Linked DNA regions of Homo sapiens: region 2 is linked to region 1. The links are contacts of gene promoters, found by promoter capture Hi-C in human tissues and cell types (Jung and others, 2019). All regions are on one chromosome and are shown on one strand. The core of a region is centred on a gene start or on the middle of the fragment in contact, and the rest is flanking DNA. Distances in the headings are between cores, read along the strand shown. Region 1 holds the start of SELL (selectin L). Region 2 overlaps F5 (coagulation factor V).

The links. The method cuts DNA at HindIII sites, captures the fragments that hold promoters and counts their contacts. A contact is called where the count stands out against the background at its distance.
Region 2: a contact is called between a fragment that was not itself captured here and the fragment with the promoter of SELL in region 1, in 1 of the 25 tissues and cell types used here (H1 embryonic stem cells).

What each region holds. Positions count from the first base shown.
Region 1 is chr1:169,709,344-169,714,325 of GRCh38, reverse strand. It overlaps SELL (selectin L), which reads left to right and starts at 2,706. Exons shown (of 9, transcript NM_000655.5): 1 at 2,706-2,830; 2 at 3,809-3,890. The coding sequence starts at 2,828. The HindIII fragment of the contact is 4,341 bases long and covers 1-3,970 here.
Region 2 is chr1:169,531,288-169,536,756 of GRCh38, reverse strand. It overlaps F5 (coagulation factor V), which reads left to right. Exons shown (of 25, transcript NM_000130.5): 14 at 77-251. Among named protein-coding and RNA genes, the nearest start is that of SLC19A2, 48 kb to the right of the region's middle. RefSeq lists an enhancer at 4,982-5,151. The HindIII fragment of the contact is 3,580 bases long and covers 1,990-5,469 here.

The DNA of each region.
Region 1 (4,982 bases), core at 1,457-3,956:
TAGATGTGTGGTGTTATTTCTGATGCCTCTGTTCTGTTCCGTTGGTCCATATATCTGTTTTTGTACCAGCACCATGCTGTTTTGGTTACTATAGCCTTGTAGTATAGTTTGAAGTCAGGTAGCATGATGCCTCCAGCTTTGTTCTTTTTGCTTAGGATTGTCTTGGCTATACAAGCTCTTTTTTGGTTCCATATGAAATTTAAAGTAGTTTTTTTCTAATTCTGTGAAAAAAGTCAGTAGTAGCTTGATGGGGATAGCACTGAATCTATAAATTACCTTGGGCAGTATGGTCATTTTCATGATATTGATTCTTCCTACCCATGAGCATGGAATGTTTTTCCATTCATTTGTGTCCTCTCTTATTTCCTTGAGCAGTGGTTTGTAGTTCTCCTTGAATAGGTCCTTCACATTCCTTGTAAGTTGGATTCCTAGGTATTTTATTCTCTTTGTAGCAATCGTGAATGGGAGTTCACTCATGATTTGGCTCTCTGTTTGTCTATTATTGCTGTATAGGAATTCTTGTGATTTTTTCACATTGATTTTGTAACCTGAGACTTTGCTGAAGTTGCTGATCAGTTTAAGGAGATTTTGGGCTGAGACAATGGGATTTTCTAAATATACAATCATGTCATCTGCAAACAGACACAATTTGACTTCCTCTCTTCTATTTGAATACACTTTATTTCTTTCTCTTGCCTGATTGCCCTGGCCAGAACTTCCAATACTATGTTGAACAGGAGTGGTGAGAGAGGCATACTTGTCTTGTGCCAGTTTTTAAAGGGAACGCTTTCAGTTTTTGCCCATTCAGTATGCTATTGGCTGTGGGTTTGTCATAAATAGCTCTTATTATTTTGAGATACGTTCCATCAATACCTAGTTTATTGAGAGTTTTTAGCATGAAGGGGTGTTGAATTTTATCCAAGGCCTTTTCTGCATCTATTGAGATAATCACGTGGTTTTTGTGATTGGTTCTGTTTACGTAATGGATTCTGTTTATTGATTTGTGTATGTTGAACCAGCCTTGCATTCCAGGGATGAAGCCAACTTGATTGTGGTTGATAAGCTTTTTGATGTGCTGCTGGATTCAGTTTGCCGTATTTTATTGAGTATTTTCGCAATGATGTTCATCAGGGATATTGGCCTGAAATTTTCTTTTTTTGTTGTGTCTCTGCCAGGTTTTAGTATCAGGATGATGCTGGCCTCATAAAATGAGTGAGGGAGGAGTTCCTCTTTTTCTATTCTCTGGAATAGTTTCAGAAGGAATGGTACCAGCACCTCTTTGTACCTCTGGTAGAATTTGGCTGTGAATCCATCTGGTCCTGGGCTTTTTTTAGTTGGTAGGCTATTAATTGCTGCCTTAATTTCAGAACTTGTTATTAGTCTATTCAGGGATTTGACTTCTTCCTGGTTTAGTCTTGGGAGGGTGTATGTGTCCAGGAATTTATCCATTTCTTCTAGATTTTCTAGTTTATTTGTGTAAAGATGTTTATAGTAATCTCTGATGGTAGTTTGTATTTCTACGGGATCAGTGGTAATATCCCCTTTACCATTTTTTATTGTGTCTATTGATTCTTCTTTCTTATTAGTCTAGCTAGTGGTCCATCTATTTTGTTAATCTTTTCAAAATGCAGCTCCTGGATTTATTGATTTTTTGAAGGCTTTTTCGTGTCTCTACCTCCTATGGTTCTGCTCTGATCTTAGTTATTTCTTGTCTTTCGCTAGTTTTTGAATTTGTTTCTTAACCTCTTTGAGACTCTTTAGAATGGGGATAATAATCATATCTATAGCAGAGAGCTGTTATAAAGATTAAACAATATAATAAATATGGGGCGCTGAGCTTCAGAGTTTTTGTTGTTGTTATTATTATTTTCCTAAAAATGCAAATCTGATTTGCATTTGACTCATTGACTCACATCAGTGGGTCTTCCTTTTTATTGTCCTTCATCATATGGGTCCTAATTTCACATGCAGTCTTATAAAACCATCTCATTTTATAGTCCAAGAATATTAAAGGTACTTGTAGGCTCCCAAACCTACACGGTGAAAAGCTAGAGAGCATGGGCTCTCTTCAGGGGTTAACTTCAGGAAGTGCCACTAACAAGGACGTCCACTAGGTGGTGAGCAAGGAAAGACGGAGGTGAAGGAACCGAAACGAGTCAAGTCCACTGCTTAGCTCTACTGAAGTTTTGCAAACATCATAAATATGTCTGAAATGCAGTTTTGATTTGTAGTATTTGCAATTTCCAAGGGCCATTTACCACAGGTAGCCAAGAGTTAGTTTAGCATTTATGAAAAAGATAGGGGAGGGTGGTGGAAAAGAAGGAGGAGGAGGAGAGAGAGAAGGAGGAAGAGGAGAACAAGAACCAAACAAAAACAAGAACAAGAACAAGTAGAAGAAGAGGAGCAGGAGGAAAAAGAAGAGGAAGAAGAACAGCAACAACAATGAGTGAAGGAGGAGGAGGGTAAGGAAAGATGCATAGGAGAATGGAAGGAAGGATAGAAAGGAGGGAAGGAAGAGAGAATCTAGTCACATTACTTTCTGATCAGCAGTTCATTTTTGTCTCAGTGGGAGGCAATAGAGGCCAGTCTAGGAAAGGGGTGGGGAAAGAGGAAAGAGAAGTGCAGGAGGAAGGGGAGGGAAAAGGGGAGGAGGAGGAGGATGTGAGACTGGGTTAGAGAAATGAAAGAAAGCAAGGCTTTCTGTTGACATTCAGTGCAGTCTACCTGCAGCACAGCACACTCCCTTTGGGCAAGGACCTGAGACCCTTGTGCTAAGTCAAGAGGCTCAATGGGCTGCAGAAGAACTAGAGAAGGACCAAGCAAAGCCATGGTGAGCCTTTCAGCCTAAAAGACGTTTAGATGCTCAGATAGAAACTCTTGGGGTTGTAGAGGCAGGTGGCAAGGATAGGAATCACCCCATTTCAATTCTGGTTTTAAATAATATAGAAACTAAACATTTTCTCAGACCCTCAAAAAAAGTGATCCTGAAATCTTTCTTCTCAGATATGCTGATTTCCTCTTCTTGACTTTGTCTCTGGGGAGACTCTTGAAGAAATACTATTGAAATCAGATCTTTTGCAATAAACACTGTGTCTACCTGAGAAGTGATATGCTTTGGAAGATAGAATTTTTTTAAAATTATACTTTAAGTTCTAGGGTACATGTGCACAACATACAGGTTTGTCACACATGTATACATGTGCCATGTTGGTGTGCTGCACCCATTAACTCGTCATTTACATTAAGTATATTTTAAGGTGTGCAGGAAATTTGTGACTTTGTCATTTCAGTTGCTCAAAAAGGTATTTCTTTTTATTAAAAAAAGAAATACTTTTCTTTCCTGGTGTCTGGCTATCTAATTTTTTTTTTTTTTAGGTATTTGAGGCATTGACCCATTATGATCAAGAGTGAGGCTATAACATTAAATATAAGCATCAATAGTTAATTAAGCAGCAACAATACTTTAAAAAATATACATAGTAAATATTAAATAGTTTTATCTAATAGCTCAGCAGAAAAGCAGGTATAAAAATTACCAAACCATAGAAAAAATTCAGGGCAGTACCGATTAGCAACTTGAGACTAAAGCGTAAAAATAAAATAGAACAAAACAAAACTGTGCATCAGTTCTGATGTAAATTTGAAGTAATTTTTCATCTATGTCTGAGAAACCTGTTACCTCAGACAGGGTTAGTAGACATATGTGTTTTATTCTGATTATTAAGAAAGTTGTAAGCACCACCTCAAAGGCTATAAATGTGTGGTTTAAGAGTATACATCTAAATATAATTTTGTATTTCATTTGCAGATATTTCCATGGAAATGTCAGAGCACCCAGAGGGACTTATGGAACATCTTCAAGTTGTGGGGGTGGACAATGCTCTGTTGTGGTATGTTATGATATTTATATATCGCTAAGTCTATTTTACTTATATTCATTTTTCTTAAATATCCACTAGTTATACATAGTCTAAGGGAAAATTATTTCACAGAGCTGTTAATTCTATCCCTTCTGTAAACATCTCTTTTCTTCTTACCTTTAGTTCTTCCCCAGAAACTCCTGAACACTATTTTTAACCTATAATAGCCCATGCTGTAGAGTTCAAATCCCAATAACCCCACAAAATCCCTCAATTATAAAGGAATAATGTTAATTAAGAAATCTCTGTTAAGGTACTTACAATCTGTACCAAATATTTAGCACCTCATTTTCTATTTTTTATTCATAGTTCAGTGTACATTAATGTCATTTCTACAATTACAATACGAGCTTATTAAGGGACGGGGGTTTATCATTTTTTGGTCCTTCTCCCATTGTTGTGACAAATTTTATATCTGATTCTTGAAGACTCTCCAGCAATAGCTTTGAACTTGGTTTTTCATTTCCTAAGTAAACTAATGTCTTCTTTCTCCCTAGCCTGGATTTTCAGCTCTAGCCAAGCAAACATGCTAACTCTCCCGTTCACACATTCCTTATGCCATGTCTGCACTGTGTCACATAGAAACTTAGTGCTCTTTTCATACAACAGGTATTTTCTGAGTCCCTACAATGTGTGAAATTTATGCTAGGCACTAAGGATACAGCAGTGGACACAACAGTTTTTTCCCTCTTAGAACTTGCATTCTAGTGGAATGCTCATTCAAAACTCTGTTCAAAATGTTTATTTTATGATGCTCTTTACCATCAATTATATCTGTTTCTTTACTGTATTAAATAGTGATTCATGTAGATCATACCATGCTTAGAATGCCATATATTATTATGAAGTCATTGTGTAATTATGTGTTTAATTAGATATCTTCAAAGCCCTCATATTTGATGGGTCCATATGTTTATTAAACATCATCAGTTGAGTCTCTTTGTGTATAGAACATGATCTAATGAATTTCATAATCCTATACCATTTGGCTTTGTAAATTGTTCTTTTTAAAAATTATACAGTTAGATATATAAGAGTTGAGTGGTATATTGGGCTTTTCCA
Region 2 (5,469 bases), core at 2,530-5,029, 180 kb after region 1:
TAGAAAGAGACAATTTCCTAAATTCTGGGAACAGTCTTTAATTTCTTCTTTTACACAAATAGTATTATTATTTCAGGGAAACAGATATTGAAGACTCTGATGATATTCCAGAAGATACCACATATAAGAAAGTAGTTTTTCGAAAGTACCTCGACAGCACTTTTACCAAACGTGATCCTCGAGGGGAGTATGAAGAGCATCTCGGAATTCTTGGTCCTATTATCAGAGCTGAAGTGGATGATGTTATCCAAGTAAGTCTTTTGAGCACTGCTAAGATCTTCGGAGGAATTTCCACAAGCACCAGAGGGTTGTAAAGGTGCAGGTGGCAAGAGAGCTATAGGTGATTTGTTTGTTTTCCAGGATTAATGAATAATTACATTTCTTTTCAAAGACTCCTTGCCAAGCAATTTGGCAATCTTCGAACTAAAAAAAAAAAAGATCTCATTTTTTAAATGCTGAAAACTATATAATCTGTGGAAAATCTTTCTGTAATTTCTATCTAAAGCTAACCTATCTAAAGTTAACACAGAAAATTAATATATTCAAGAGCAATTGAATTGGGTTTCATAGCAGTGGTGGTGGTGGTGGCAGTAGCAGTGCTAGTAGTAATAGTAATTTAGAAATATCTTCAGGTGTTTTCCTAAAAATTAAATAAAATGAAGTTAAATAAAATGAGTAAGGAAAGTAAAGATGTCTCCATGCCCTCCAAAAGTGAGCAAGTTTCTTCAGTGTCTTCCTAGTTCTGGTAATTTCTTTCAAAATCTTGTGTCCAGACCCACGATTATAACTTGCTTTTATAACAAAGTTTACTTCCGCCATTTTTGCTAACCGCTCACATTCAAAAACCCAGAAAGAACCCTGATTCTAAAGTAAGCTATTCTAGATTTTAAAATATAATCTACTATACCTGTGTAAGCATTCACTACATTTTCAGTGACCATTTGCTCTTTTTAAAAACGTAAACAAGTACATAGGGATATAAGAATCTTAATTATTCTAAATTTTCCATGAAGCTATGGGAGGCAATATTCTCTTTTATGATTAGGGGATCCTTTTTCAAGATGAACGATAATTTAACACAATATTTAAAAAACTTATTCTAAGTAACTCAGGAATCAAAAACCAGACACTGTATGTTCTCACTTACAAATGGGAGATAAACTGCGGGTATGCGAAGGCAGACAGATTGGTATAATGGACATTGGAGACTCAAAAGGGAACGGGGGATGGATGAAAAGCTACCTATTGGGTACAGGGTACACTACTCAGGTGACAGGTACACTAAAATCCTAGACTTCACCACTATACAATTCATCCATGTAACCAAAAACCACTTGCATTCCTAAAGCAACTGAAGTTTTTTAAAAAATTTAAAAATCAAAATTAATGCACGAAAGCCACAATAAACAAAACCTCACAATTGTGAATAAAGACAGGATAAGTAACAATGTTGCATTGAGACATACTGGAGCCTTAGGCAAAAGGAAAAAAATCAAATACTGAATCTTTGTTTTAGCCCTGGATTTCACTAGATAAAAATGACTTCATTTGTGTATTTTTAAAATAATTTTAACTTTTATTTTAGATTCAGGGGGCATATGTGCAGTTTTGTTATCTGGGTATATTATGTGATGCTGTTGTTTAGGGTATGATTGATCCCATCATCCAAGTAGCGTGCATAGTACCCAATAGTTTTTCATCCCTTGCTCATCTCCTTCCTTCCCCCTTCTAGAAGTCCCCAGTGTTTATTGCCATCTTTATGTTCATGAGTACCCAATGTTTAGCTCCCACTTATAAGTGAGAACATGTGGTATTTGGCTTTCTGTTTCTGCATTAATTCACTTAGCATAATAGCCTCCAGCTGGCATCCATGTTGTTGCAAAGGACGTGATTTCAGTCTTTGTTATGGCTGCGTAGTATTCCATGGTGCATATGTACCATATTTTCTTTATGTAGTCCACCACTGATGGGCACCTAGATTGATTCCATGTCTTTGCTACTGTGAATAATGCTGTGATGAACATCCTAGTACATGTGTCTTTTCAGTAGAACAATGTATTTTCTGTCTTTCTTTCTTTTTTTTTTTTTTGAGATGGAGTCTCACTCTGTCGCCCAGGCTGGAGTACAGAGGTATGATCTCAACTCACTGCAACCTCTGCCTCCCAGGTTCAAGCAATTCTCCTGCCTCAGCCTCCCGAGTAGCTGGGATTACAGGCACCCACCACCATGCCCAGCTAATTTTTGTATTTTTAGTAGAGACAGGGTTTTACCATGTTGGCCAGGCTGGTCTCAAACTCCTGACCTCGGGCAATCTGCCTGCCTCAGCTTCCCAAAGTGCTGGGATTACAGGCATGAGCCATTGCGCCCGGCTGAACAATTTATTTTCTTTTTTGGCTATATACCCAGTAATAGAATTGCTAGGTCAAATTGTAGCAGGACAAGCCACAGACAAAAACCCCTCAGACACCAAGTTAAAGAAGGAAGGGCTTTATTCAGCCGGGAGCTTTGGCAAGACTCATGTCTCCAACAACCGAGCTCCCCGAGTGAGCAATTCCTGTCCCTTTTAAGGGCTCACAACTCTAAGAGGGTCCACGTGAGTGGGTCGTGATTGATTGAGCAAGGAGGGGGTACGTGACTGGGGGCTGCATGCACCAGTAATTAGAACAGAACAGAACAGGACAGGGATTTTCACAGTGCTTTTCTATACAATGTCTGTAATCTATAGATAACATAACCGATTAGGTCACGGGTCGATCTTTAACTACCAGGTCCAGGGTGTGGCGCCGGGCTGTCTGCTTGTGGATTTCATTTCTGCCTTTTAGTTTTTACTTCTTCTTTCTTTGGAGGCAGAAATTGGGCATAAGACAATATGAGGGGTGGTCTCCTCCCTTAAAATAGTAGTTCTGTTTCAAATTCTTTGAGAAACCCCCAAACTTCTTTCCACAGTGGCTAATTTACATTCTAAGCAGCAGTGTATAAGCATTCCCTTTTCTTCACAGCCTCACCAGCATCTATTTTTTGACTTTGTACTAATAGCCATTCTGACTGGTGTGAGATGGTATTTCACTGTGGTATTGATTTGCATTTCTCTGATGATTAGTGATGTTGAGCATTTTTTTCACATTTGTTGGCTATTTGTATGTCTTCTTTTGATAAGTATCTGTTCATGTCTTTTGCCCACTTTTTAATGGGGTTATTTGTATTTCGCTTGTTCAATTGTTTAACTATCTTATAGTTTCTGGATATTAGACCTTTGTCAGATACATACTTTGTGAATATTTTTTCTATTCTGTGTCTGTTCACTCTGTAGATAGCTTCTTTTGCTGAGCAGAAGCTCTTTAGTTTAATTTGTCAATTTTTGCTTTTGTTGAAATGCTTTTGAGGAATTAGTCATAAATTCTTTCCCAAGGCTGATATCCAGAATGGTGTTTCCTAGGTTTTTCTTCTAGGATTCTTATAGTTTGAGGTCTGACATTTAAATCTTTAATCCATTTTGAGTTAATTTTTGTATATGATGAATCCAGTTTCATTGGATTCATTGGGGTTCAGTTTCATTCTTCCACATATGGGTAGCCGGCTATTCCAGCACCATTTATTAAATATGAGTCCTTTTCCCCTTGTTTTTTGTTGTTGTTGTTGCTGTTGTTGTTGACTTTGTCAAAGTTCAGGTGGTTGTAAGTGTGTGGCTTTATTTCTGGGTTCTTTATTCTGTTTCATTGGCCTATGTGTCTGTTTTTGTATCAGTACCATGCTATTTTGGTTATTGTAACTTTATAGTATAGTTTCAAGTCAGGTACTGTGATACCTCCAGATTTGTTCTTTTTGCTTAGGATTGCTTTGGCTATTCAGGCTCTTTTTTGATTCCATATGAATTTTAGAATAGCTTTGTCTAATCCTGAGGAAAATGATTCCAGTAGTTGTTAAAAAATAGTGTTGAATCTGTAGATTGCTTTGGGCACAATGGCTATTTTAACAATACTGATTCTTCCAATACATAAGCATAGAATGTTTTTCCATTTGTTTGTGTCATCTATGATTTCTTTCATCAGTGTTTTGTAATTCTTCTTATAGAGATCTTTCACCTCTTTGGTTAGATGTTTTCCTAGGTATTTTGTATGTGTGTGTGGCTATGTTTAATGGGATTTCGTTCTTGATTTCGCTCTCAGTTTGAACATTACTGATGTATAGAAATGCTATTTTGTACATTTGTACATTTTATTTTGTATAATTGATTTTGTACATTAATCTTGCATCCTGAAACTTTACTGAAGTCATTTATCAGTTCCTGGAGCCTTTTCATGGAGTCTTTAGGGTTTTCTAGGTACAGAATCATATTGCCAATGAAGAGAGATACTTTAACTTCTTTTCTTCTTTGGTTGCCTTTTATTTCTTTCTCTTGCTTGATTGCTGTGACTAGAATTTCCAGTACTATGTTGAATAAGAGTGATGAGATTGGGCATCCATGTCTTGTTCCAGTTCTCACGGGGAAGGCTTTCAGCTTTTGCTCATTCAGTATGATGTTGGCTGTAGGTTTGTCATAGATGGCTCCTATTAGTTTGAAGTATGTTCCTTCAATGCCTAGTTTGTTGAGGGTTTTTATCATGAAGGGATGTTAGGTTTTATCAAAAGCTTTTTCCACATTTATTGAGATGATGATACTGTTTTTGTTTTTAATGCGGTTTATGTGGTGAATCACATTTATTGATTTGCATATGTGGAGCCACTTTGCATCCTAGGAATGAAGCCTATGTGATTGTGATGAATTAATTTTTAATTTGCTGCTGGATTTGGTTTGCCAATATTTTGTTGAAGATTTTTGTGTCTATGTACATCAGAGATATTGGCCGGTAGTTTTCATTATTCATTGTGTCTTTGCCAGGTTTTGTTATTAGGGTGATGCTGGCTTTGTAGAATAAAATAAGGAACAGACAATTAGGGAGTCTTTAATCACTAGAAGTTATAGAAGGGCTGGGAGGAGCTTCATGGGTCTGACTGCTGGGGTGTGAAGACTTCTCATATGGCATTTAAGTCCTTTACCATCTGGCCCCAACCTGCTCCTTTTCTAGCCTCATTTCTCACCAGGTTCCACCTGTCCCTGTGCATTTCACAGCCCAGTTCCACCGAGATCCTTGCTATTCCCCAAACTCTTCCTTTACTCCCCTGCTCACAGGCATCCTTCTGCCCTTCTGAGAGTCTGAAATGTCTTTCTAGCTCCTGTTCATTCTATGATGGCCAATTCCATTTCCTCTAAGAAACTTACCTTAATTCTTCCAACCACTCCTAAATATTCAACCAAATTGTTCCTCCAGGGCATTGTCATCTGAACCCACTTAGACTTTGTATATAGCACCTGTTGTCTCCAGATTTGTAGTGTGGATGCCCATGTGCATGTCTGTTTCAGCAGGAGCTTAAAAGCTTCTTATGAACAAGAATCAAGCTTCTTTCATCTTCACATCTCCACTACCTATC